Regions from separate parts of the Homo sapiens genome. Here region 1 is linked to region 2. Evidence: promoter capture Hi-C in human tissues and cell types (Jung and others, 2019). All regions are on one chromosome and are shown on one strand. The core of a region is centred on a gene start or on the middle of the fragment in contact, and the rest is flanking DNA. Distances in the headings are between cores, read along the strand shown. Region 1 has its middle 4.1 kb from the start of MCUB. Region 2 holds the start of RRH (retinal pigment epithelium-derived rhodopsin homolog).

Region 1 (4,858 bases), core at 285-2,784, 270 kb after region 2:
CGGAGTTGTTCATTCCTCCCAGTGGGTTCGGGTCTCACTGGCCTCAGAAATGAAGCTGCAAACCTTCACGGTGAGTGTTACAGATCATAAAGGCAGTGCAGACCCAAAGAGTGAGCAGCAGCAAGATTTATTGCAAACAACAAAAGAACAAAGCTTCTAGAGCGTGGCACGGGACCCAGACAGGTTGCCACTGCTGGCTCTGGCAGCCTGCTTTTATTCCCCCATCTGGCCCCACCCACATCCTGCTGATTGGTCCATTTTACAGAGCGCTGATTGGTCCGTTTTGACAGGGTGCTGATTGATGTGTCTACAATCCCTGAGCTAGATACAGAGTGCTGATTGGTGTATTTACAATCCTTTAACTGGATATAAAGGTTCCCCAAGTCCCCACTAGATTAGCTAGACACGGAGCACTGATTGGTGCATTTACAAACCTTGAGCTAGACACAGGGTGCTGATTGGTGTGTTTACAATCCTTTAGCTAGACATAAAGGTTCTCCAAGTCCCCAGGAGATTAGCTAGATACAGAGTGCTGATTGGTGCATCCACGAACCCTGAGCTAGACACAGAGCACTGATTGGTGCATTTACAAACCTTTAGCTAGACAGAGTGCTGATTGGTGCATTTACAATCCTCTAACTAGACATAAAAGTTCTCCAAGTCCCCACCCCTCTCAGGAGCCCAGTTGGCTTCCCCTAGTGGATGCCATGCCAGGGTTGCGGGCTGAGCTGCTTGCCAGTCCTGCGCTCGTGCCTCGTGCCTGCACTCAGCAGCCCTTGGGCAGTCAATGGGACTGGACGCCGCTGAGGCAGGGGCGGTGCCCCTCAGGGAGGCTAGGGCCTAGCAGAAGCCCACCGCGGGGGGACTTGCACATGGCGGGCTGCAGATCCGAGCCCTGCCCCATGGGGAGGTGGCTGAGGCCTGGTGAGAATTTGAGCGTGGCGCGGGCCGGCTGGCAGTGCTGGGGGACCTGACGCCCCCCTCTGCAGCTGCTGGCCCAGGTGCTAAGCCCTTCACTGCCCGGGCCGGGGGTGCCGGCCGCCCTCCGAGTGCGGGGCCACGGAGCCCACGCCCACCCGGAACTCGCGCTGTCCCGCAAGGCCACATGCAGCCCCGGTTCCCACCCGCGTCTCTCCCTCAACCTCCCTGCAAGCAGAGGGAGCTGGTACCAGCTTCCGCAAGCCTGGAGAGGGGCTCCCACAGTGCAGCAGCGGGCTGAAGGGCTCCTCAAGCATGGCCAGAGCGGACTCTGAGGCCAAGGAGGCGCTGAGAGCCAGCGAGGGCCGCCAGCACATTGTCACCTTTCAATAAGATTCTTTACACAATTTTTATTAAACCAGAGAGCCAGCCAGGCGTGGTGGCTCATGCCTGTAATCCCAGCACTTTGGGAGGCCAAGACGGGCGGATCACAAGATCAGGAGTTCAAGACCAGCCTGGCCAACATTGGTGAAACCCTGTCTCTACTAAGAATACAAAAATTAGCCGGGCGTGGTGGAACGTGCCTGTAGTCCTGGCTACTCGGGAGGCTAAGGGAGGAGAATTGCTTGACCCCGGGGAGGCAGAGGTTGCAGTGAGCCGAGGTTGTGCCACTACACTCCAGCCTGGGCGACAGAGCAAGACTCCATCTCAAAAAAAAAAACAAACCAGAGAGCCTCATTTGGGGGCTCTTGGGTTCCTCGTCTGCTACACAGAAGTGAGGAGATTCCCCTGACTGATCTCATGTTGTTAAGTGTTCTATCCATCCCCACCACACCCCAACTTCTTCATGAAGCAGGTCTCCATCCTTATAACTTGAGAGGCTGTGAATCATTCCATAGATGTCGGTCTTCTGCTACCGCTCTTCACATTGCCTCTACATACCAGGTCTTCAGCTGCATTCTAGAAACATCATATACTATTGATTGCAAATCTATAATAATATAAGACAATGACTGACAGGGAAAAAAGTTTTTTTAAGTTACAAACTCAATCCACTTGTTGCATTTCAAAGGTGCAATACTTTTCTTTATTCATCAGTTAAAGAAGTTAGAAATTAACTTCCCCAAAAATCAGCAACCGGCAAACAAATTTCCTTGAAAGTCACAGTCACATATTTAGTGCATCCCAGAAAAGAACAGGGGCAAGAGAATTTTCACCCACTTTCATGAGTTTCATCAAATACTGAGCCTACTCAAGGGTGGAGAGAAAAGGTAACTTTCAAAAAGAGGTATGTTATTAAATAAGGCATTTACTATATTCTTTCCTAAAAGCACCCCAGATAGGGAACATGTTTTTTAAACTAGATTTAGGAAGTCGAATATGGAGTCAATCCGTCCTTCTCCTCTTAAGGACTGACCACTGGTTAATGAATTAAAAAAGAGAAAAGAAAAGAAAAGAAAAAAGACTAAAAAACAAACCCTACAAACACTCCTCCTCCAAAAAAGAAAAAAATAAAACCCCACTAAGATGTCCCAGATTACCCTCCAGAATGGACCCAGGGAGCAGCTTCAACAATTCCAATTAGTCTGTTACACAGTCATCACAAGCATGCCTTGCTTTTAAGTAAAAACAAAATTGTTTTTTGAAACAAAAACCAAAAATGAGTACTGATCACTTTTCTAACAATACACAATTACTCAGAATTAACTAGTATTGGGAGGGAGAAGTGGGCCATACCTCTAATCCCTGTCTCACATGGATGCATGTGGGTTGGTGCAGGGTATTTGTCATTATTGCATAAATGAATTTTAATTTTTAATCTTTTGTTTGATTTAAACATTGCTTTTAGTATGATGCCTACACCAGCTGTGCAGAAAGGGCTCTGGAGAGATGTTCATAGCAGCATAGGCTTCCAGCTCTTCTTCAGTTCTGGAGGCTCCAGGACAGCCAATATTGCTTTGTCAAATCCATTCTTTAGATCTTGCTGTGTGGGTACAGGACCGTCCATATACTTGACAGCCTTCAGGTTGTGGGCCGGCTTTTCAGCAGTCTCTGGAGTGATAGGCTTCTATTTGTTCTTGGTAATTTTCTCAATAATAGACCCTCTGAGATCAATTTGGGTTGTGACAAGCAAGAAAGGAGCCTTTGGACAGTGGTGAGTTATCTCAGGCCCTCACTTTTCTTTCATACTTTAAAATGAACATGGAGAGACCACTGAGAAACAGACTAGAAATATATCTGTGTAGATAACTCAGGAGTTATAGTCTGTCATAATCTTCTTGCCCTGCAGAATTAAAAGTCTAAGAGTATATGGCTCTGCACCAGTCCTAACTGTGAGTGCATAGTTGTCAAAAACAGTCTGTATCTATTAGGATGGAAATTTGTTGTGTAGGATATCAGGAGACATGTTTTACCAACAACTGCATTGACCACAACAATGCAACTAATTGTCTGCATTGCTGAAATAGTTTTGTATCCACTTTAAATATTTGAAATCTGATGTTGACCTCAGTTCTCCAGAAAAGAGTCTTATTAGGAAGGAGGGGAATGGAGAAGAGGGGGAGGAGATGTCCGTTTTGCAGCACAGAATCTGGCCACAAAGGTGGGATTAGCAAACTCCTGTGGGAGAAGCTCCGGACACTGCAGACAGAGCGGGTTTACCGGGGAGGCACTGTCCACAAAGTCGCTCGGCACACATAGATGTTTCGGGTGCACAACAAACTTTCCCACAGTATATAGGACTCTTGATGAGACAAAACGATTACTCAATGTGAGCTAGTTCATAAGTATTACTTATATGTCACAGCCTTTTCACATTCGAATCTCTGATCTCGCTTTTCAAAAAAAAAAAAACTTTGTAAACAGCTCTATTAAGGTATGATCTACATATCGTAACTTTCATTTATTAAAAGTTATTTTTGGCAAATTTACAGAGTTGTGCAACAGTCACCACAATCAATTAGAACATTTCCATCACTCTAGAAAGATTCCTCAGGCTCATTTGCCTCACTCTCCATTCTTACCTCCAGCCCCAGGCAACTACTAATCTACTTTCTGTCTCTCTAGGAAGCAAAGAGCAAGCTGAGCTGGAGATACATTTACTTTGGGTTTAGTGGGATATTTTTGTGTGGTTCATGGTCATTTCTATGTATTGTTAAGATATTGCTAGCCATGCCCACGTAGGAATGGCTTCCAGGAATACTCCTGTTATCCATTGGGCCTCCCACTTTGATAGAATTTTAATGGTAAATAGAGAAGGATATTCCTTTCCCTATTCTGTCTCCAGGTCCTGGACCTCCATTGCTAATAGAGTATTAAAGAACTCTGTACCCAAATGAGAGTACACATTATTTCAAACACATATGGATGATTCACAATGTAATGCCCACATGGTGGGCCTCAAAGGGAATCTCAAAAATGACCTTAAACTTGCTAACATATAAGCTATGTTCATGAAATTAAATATAAGAAATTGGAGTTTTCTGCCTGAGCAAGGAGACTGGTGGTCTGGTTCTTGGGCTTCCCTAGCAGCCTGGCCCCCAAATGCCAGTCTTCCCTCCTGTCTCGAAAGAAGACACCAAGACCACCTCCTGTTCTGAGACCAGAGGAGACTTCGGCCTCTGTAGGCTTGCCAAAGAAGGGCGAAAAAGAACAGCAAGAAGCAATTGAACACATTGATGAAATACAAAATGAAATAGACAGACTTAATGAACAAGACAATGAGGAGATTTTGAAAGTAGAACAGAAATATAACAAACTCCGCCAACCATTTTTTCAGAAGAGGTCAGAATTGATCTCTAAAATCCTAAATTTGGGGGTAACAACATTTGGCAATCATTTACAAGTGTCTGCACTGCTTGGGAAGGAAAACGAAGAGACATTGCATTATTTGACCAGAGTTGAAGTGACAGAATTTGAAGATATTAAATCAGGTTACAGA
Region 2 (4,926 bases), core at 1,816-4,315:
CTGCCTTGTTTCCACAGCTGTAGGTCTTCTAATGAGTATACAAAAGATCACCTAGTTGTTAGATTTTAGTTAAGTCCCATTTCACAGTCAGTCTAAACACTAAGTAGCACTTGATGTTGATTTCTCCTTCACTCTTGAAACATTTTCCTTCTTGTCTTCCGTGACTTCCGTGCAATCTCTTCAACAGACCCTTCTTGATCTACTTCCTGGCCTTTCTTTCTCCATCTATGTCTTATTAAATATGTGCATTGTCCAACCTTCTGTCCTAGATCCCTTTCTTTTCACATTTAACACATACTCTGAGTAATTTCTTCATACCCAAGGCTATACCCTGATATTTTTCAGCCTCCGGACACTCAAACCCATGTGTCCAGCTTTTTATTGGACACCTCTCAAACTGAACTGAGAGACTTTTTCTCCTGCCTCAAACCTGTTCTTCCCCAGGTGTGTTCCCATCTGATGAAGAGCATCACCATCTATTCAGTGGCTCAAAAAAGAAACCTAGGCATCATCTTTGATACTTCTCTCCTTCTCCCACAATCCCAACATCCAATCATCAATTCCACCTTCTGGCTCTTGAATGTATCTACTTTTTTCTGTCCCCACTGCGATTACTCCCTCCTCAGAATCACTGCAATGGCCTCCTATGTGGTCCCTTAGCTACCACTATAGCACATTTCTAAAACACAAATCAGATCATGTCACTCCCATTTCAAACCCTTCAGTGACTCCCTGTCACCTTTAAAACTTACACGGCTCATCACTGTCTGGTACTCAGCCATCTTTTTCAACCTCTCACCCTTCATTTTACAGTTCAAACATAATGATTTATTTCAGATCCTCAAATTCACCATGTCCTCTTACCTCCCAGCCTTAACTGGGGAAAGGGAGAGTGCTCAAGGACACTAAATTAACAAAATGTCTGTTGCACTGGAAGTTGTAACAGTTTATAGGAGCCAAACTATAAATGAAAGATCAAATTAAAAATTAAATAAAAAATCTAAATAGGCCCTTGGTAAAAGTAACGAATGAAATAAATGCTTTCACTACACCCTTTCCTCATAGTTTTGGTTTTGATTTGCAACTTTAAGTGAGTTTTGTTAAAGGAGGAAAGTTAGGGGATCTAAAGAAAAATAGATGCTTGATACAGGGGCAGAACAAAAGCATAAAGAGTTCAGCTATGCTTCCTTCAGTGGATCCACCAGAAACACAAACAACACACACTCATTGTATACCTTGATAAAGCTGACTCTTGGATTTATATGTGAGGGCTCTAGAACCAAAATGCCTGGGTTCAAATCCTGGTGTAGCTGCTTAGTAAATGTGTGTGCTGGACAAGTTTCTTAAGCTCTTCATCTGTATAAACTAGAGAAATAAAACTGAAGAGTAACTTACTAAATTAGTGTAAGGATGAATTATTCTGTATGTGTAAGGTTTTAGAACAGTGCTTGGTATATAGCAAGTATTCAAATGATAACATTAGTAGCAGTAGTAGTAAGATTACTATTATTATTACTGTTACAGAGATAAGAACTAAATAGAATATTTTCTGCATGCTAATTTTGTAACCAGGTCAAAAAAGGATAGTTTTGGTTGTTTTTTGGATTTTTTTTTTTTTTGGTCATCTACAAATAACTAACTAAACCAAACACTTGTATACAAAGTATTTCCATGTAATTGTTAGGAGATTTTCTCAGTCTTTTTTGCAATTACAAAAAAACTAGAACTTGTCTAGTACTTATCATAGAGGTATTCAAATGAACGAGATAACGTCACTAAAATCGCAAAACTTAACTGAGGAACTCAATTTCCAGTACTAGAAGTAATACGCTGAATTATAAGGAAGAAACGTAAACAATTATAAACTGGGTATAGGATGGTGTGTTATACTTTTCACTCTACTTTTGAATGTTTGAAAATTTTTATAAAAGTCAATCCAAAAAATAATGAACTCAATATAAGAGTTACTTCTACAACTCGTTAGAGTATAAAGTTGAAAATTAAGTGATTGCTCAATATAAAAGTTACACAATTCAATGATACATTAAAAAGATAAAAAGTTTCTGTCATTCCCCCATCCCTTTTTTTCTGCAAACAATCCTTTACATCAATGAGTGTGTAGGGAGGAAAGGGAAAAAGAAACAAATATTTGTCCAACACCTACTATATGGCATTTATGTGTCACTTAATTTTACTCCTTATAACAATCATGACAGATAACTTATTCTTATCCTTGTTTTACAGATGAGAAAATGGAAGAACAAAAAGGGAAGATACATGCTCACAGTTGCAAATATACTAAAAGATGAAATCCAAAACTCAAGAGTTTTCCAATAAGCATTCTGGAACAAGCTGAATTTTCAGACTCTGTCCTCAATGACAATATACCCTGCTCTGTCTTCTTAGGACTTTTTCTTTCCAGAACCTTTAAGTTCTTAGCTAAATTCTACCACCAAGAACAAAAATATGAGGGTTATGTATAAGAATAGTAAATGACATAAAAATATGTTTTTGCCATGGTGCATACTCTTCTCCAATAAAAACTTTAACAATCCAATAATCAAATACATAGATTTTTATGAAAGAACTATTTATCACATAGAAAACTTTTCTCAGCCCCACTTCACTGCTCTTATTTACCAAAATTCAAAATAACCTGTGGCAATGGCCATCACTAACAATGCTTTCCCTTATTCTTTCACCCACATTATCTTATTTGATCTTTACAGCCCAGAAATAGAGTATCATCATCCTCATTTACCAACGAGCAAGCCAAGTCAGGATAAATGACTTGTCAAGGTTGGCCAATAATATGGAACTTGAAACAATGCATGCCTTATGCTGAAAACTTCTGCCTTTCTTCACCCATTCTAAAGAAAAATAACTTACTTAAATATCCATACCTGCCATAATCAAGTAAGTTGCAACAATATTGTGTTCAGTCTGTGAAAAGACCGAGCCATCTTCATTTTTAGAGTCTGAACTGTTGCCTAAATTATTTCTTAGCATTTTGGAGGGAAGATACCGAAACACCCTTCATAATAAGCCTTCGATAATTATGAACTGCTTTATGAGCTACTGAGGAAAGATTTTTTAGGACCAATCATTTCCACTTAGAGACCTCAAAGAAGGGCCTTTTCATAGAGGCCCTCCCTTAACAAATTTAATTGGGCTAAAGAGGAAAGGACTTTAATTCCCAGAATAAGGGAAAAGCTTATTAGCAAAACAAAAAGAAATACCAAGCACCACACATTTTAACCTATTTGGGCATCAGTCTTCTATCTAAGGAGATTATCAAGCACACACATCCCATTTAACAATAAACAAACTCAGGAAATCAGTATAGGAGCCAGCCTTAGTCCTCTAAAACTATTCGGATTAAGGTCCCTGTTTTCTGTTGACCATTCAAGTCTTTCCATTTCGGCTCCTTTTGTTGTTTTTTTTTTCTTAACAATTTAAATATTAGTGACAAAGAAGTAGTCTCCTTCCTACTTCCAAATCTCACTCTCCTAAAGGTACCAGTATTGTTTGGTGCATATCCTTTCTTAGGCTTTTCTCTGCTTATACACATATTCATACAAGTGTTTCAGGTTTCCTCCACTTTCTTCTTGTAAATAAAAATGAGGGAAAAAAATAAGTACAAATGTATATATATAATGCAACTTGTTTTCCCATAAGGCTGTATTATAATATCCAAGTTAATAAACCCAGAATCTAATAAAGTCTAATTTATTAGTAGCTATGTATTTCATAGCATGGATATAATATGATCAACTCCACCATCCGTTAATTTCCCCTATAGTTTGATATGCACATGAGTAATTAATATTATCTGATGATAGTAATCATTGTATACTTTGCCAGAGTATCTGAATTCAATCACTGATATTGTAAAGTACAGAATAAAAATATTCTGGATTATCACATTACAACCTGAAAACCAACCTGAGCATGTTTTGTTAGAATAATAAGGTATCCCTATTACCTTTTTTCCCATATTCTTTATGCCATTAACATTATTAAAATCTGATTCTCCTCAGTTTCCTAAAATCAGTAAACATTAGAGAAATGCTTAGATGCACCAAAGTTAACAGTGTAAGCATAAAACAGAACCACTAGAGGGCTATATTTACCCACTTAGTTTAATTTTATAAAAATCCTAGAATGGCACAGCAGAAACCTAAGATAATCCTTTTGCTTCAGTTCTCTTGCCTGTGTATAAACTCAAGATGAACAGGTTGATTTATCTGTCCCAAATCTTATAGCTACCAGTACTCACATTTTTATAAATGTAATATTGTTATACCTATACTAGAAAAGCGAATCTCGTCAGTATTGTTTTCAAATGACCCTAGAGCAAAAAACATAATACCCAAGAGGAAATCACTCCCTTTAAAAAGTCTTTGTCTTTTCTTTCATTCAATATGCAAAACAAAACTTAAAATTTTTGAATTTGCTTTGGGTCATACTACCTTCCTTTTCTGTAATAAGTTATACCTAGTTGTAGCATCCATGAAAAATTTTCCAGAAATAATTATTTCTAAGAACTGAAAAATATATAATTTCAGATAGTCAGCTTTCTGCTGCAGATGAAAGTTTTGATATGAGTGAGGTAGGTGCATTTGAAGTTCTTTTTTATGCTTCCTTCATGGGTGATACAGAAAAGCTATATTGGGATAAGGCTTAGAAATACATGTGAATTTGATTCAAAATGAAATGCCTCAAAAAAACCCAGAAACTAGGCCAGGCGCAGTGGCTCACACCTGTAATCCCAGCACTTTGGGAGGCCAAAGCAGGCGGATCACCTGAGGTCAGGAATTCGAGACCAGCCTGACCAACATGGAGAAACCCCATCTCTACTAAAAATACAAAATTAGCCGGGCATGGTGGCGCATGCCTGTAATCCCAGCTACTTGGGAGGCTGAG

The links. The method cuts DNA at HindIII sites, captures the fragments that hold promoters and counts their contacts. A contact is called where the count stands out against the background at its distance.
Region 1: a fragment that was not itself captured here is called in contact with the fragment with the promoter of RRH in region 2 in 1 of the 25 tissues and cell types used here (lymphoblastoid cells).

What each region holds. Positions count from the first base shown.
Region 1 is chr4:109,553,687-109,558,544 of GRCh38, reverse strand. It overlaps the pseudogene SETP20 and the pseudogene CDC42P4. Among named protein-coding and RNA genes, the nearest start is that of MCUB, 4.1 kb to the left of the region's middle. The HindIII fragment of the contact is 3,956 bases long and covers 1-3,512 here.
Region 2 is chr4:109,826,111-109,831,036 of GRCh38, reverse strand. RRH (retinal pigment epithelium-derived rhodopsin homolog) reads right to left here and starts at 3,065. Exons shown (of 7, transcript NM_006583.5): 1 at 2,904-3,065. The coding sequence starts at 3,009. The HindIII fragment of the contact is 8,882 bases long and covers 1-4,159 here.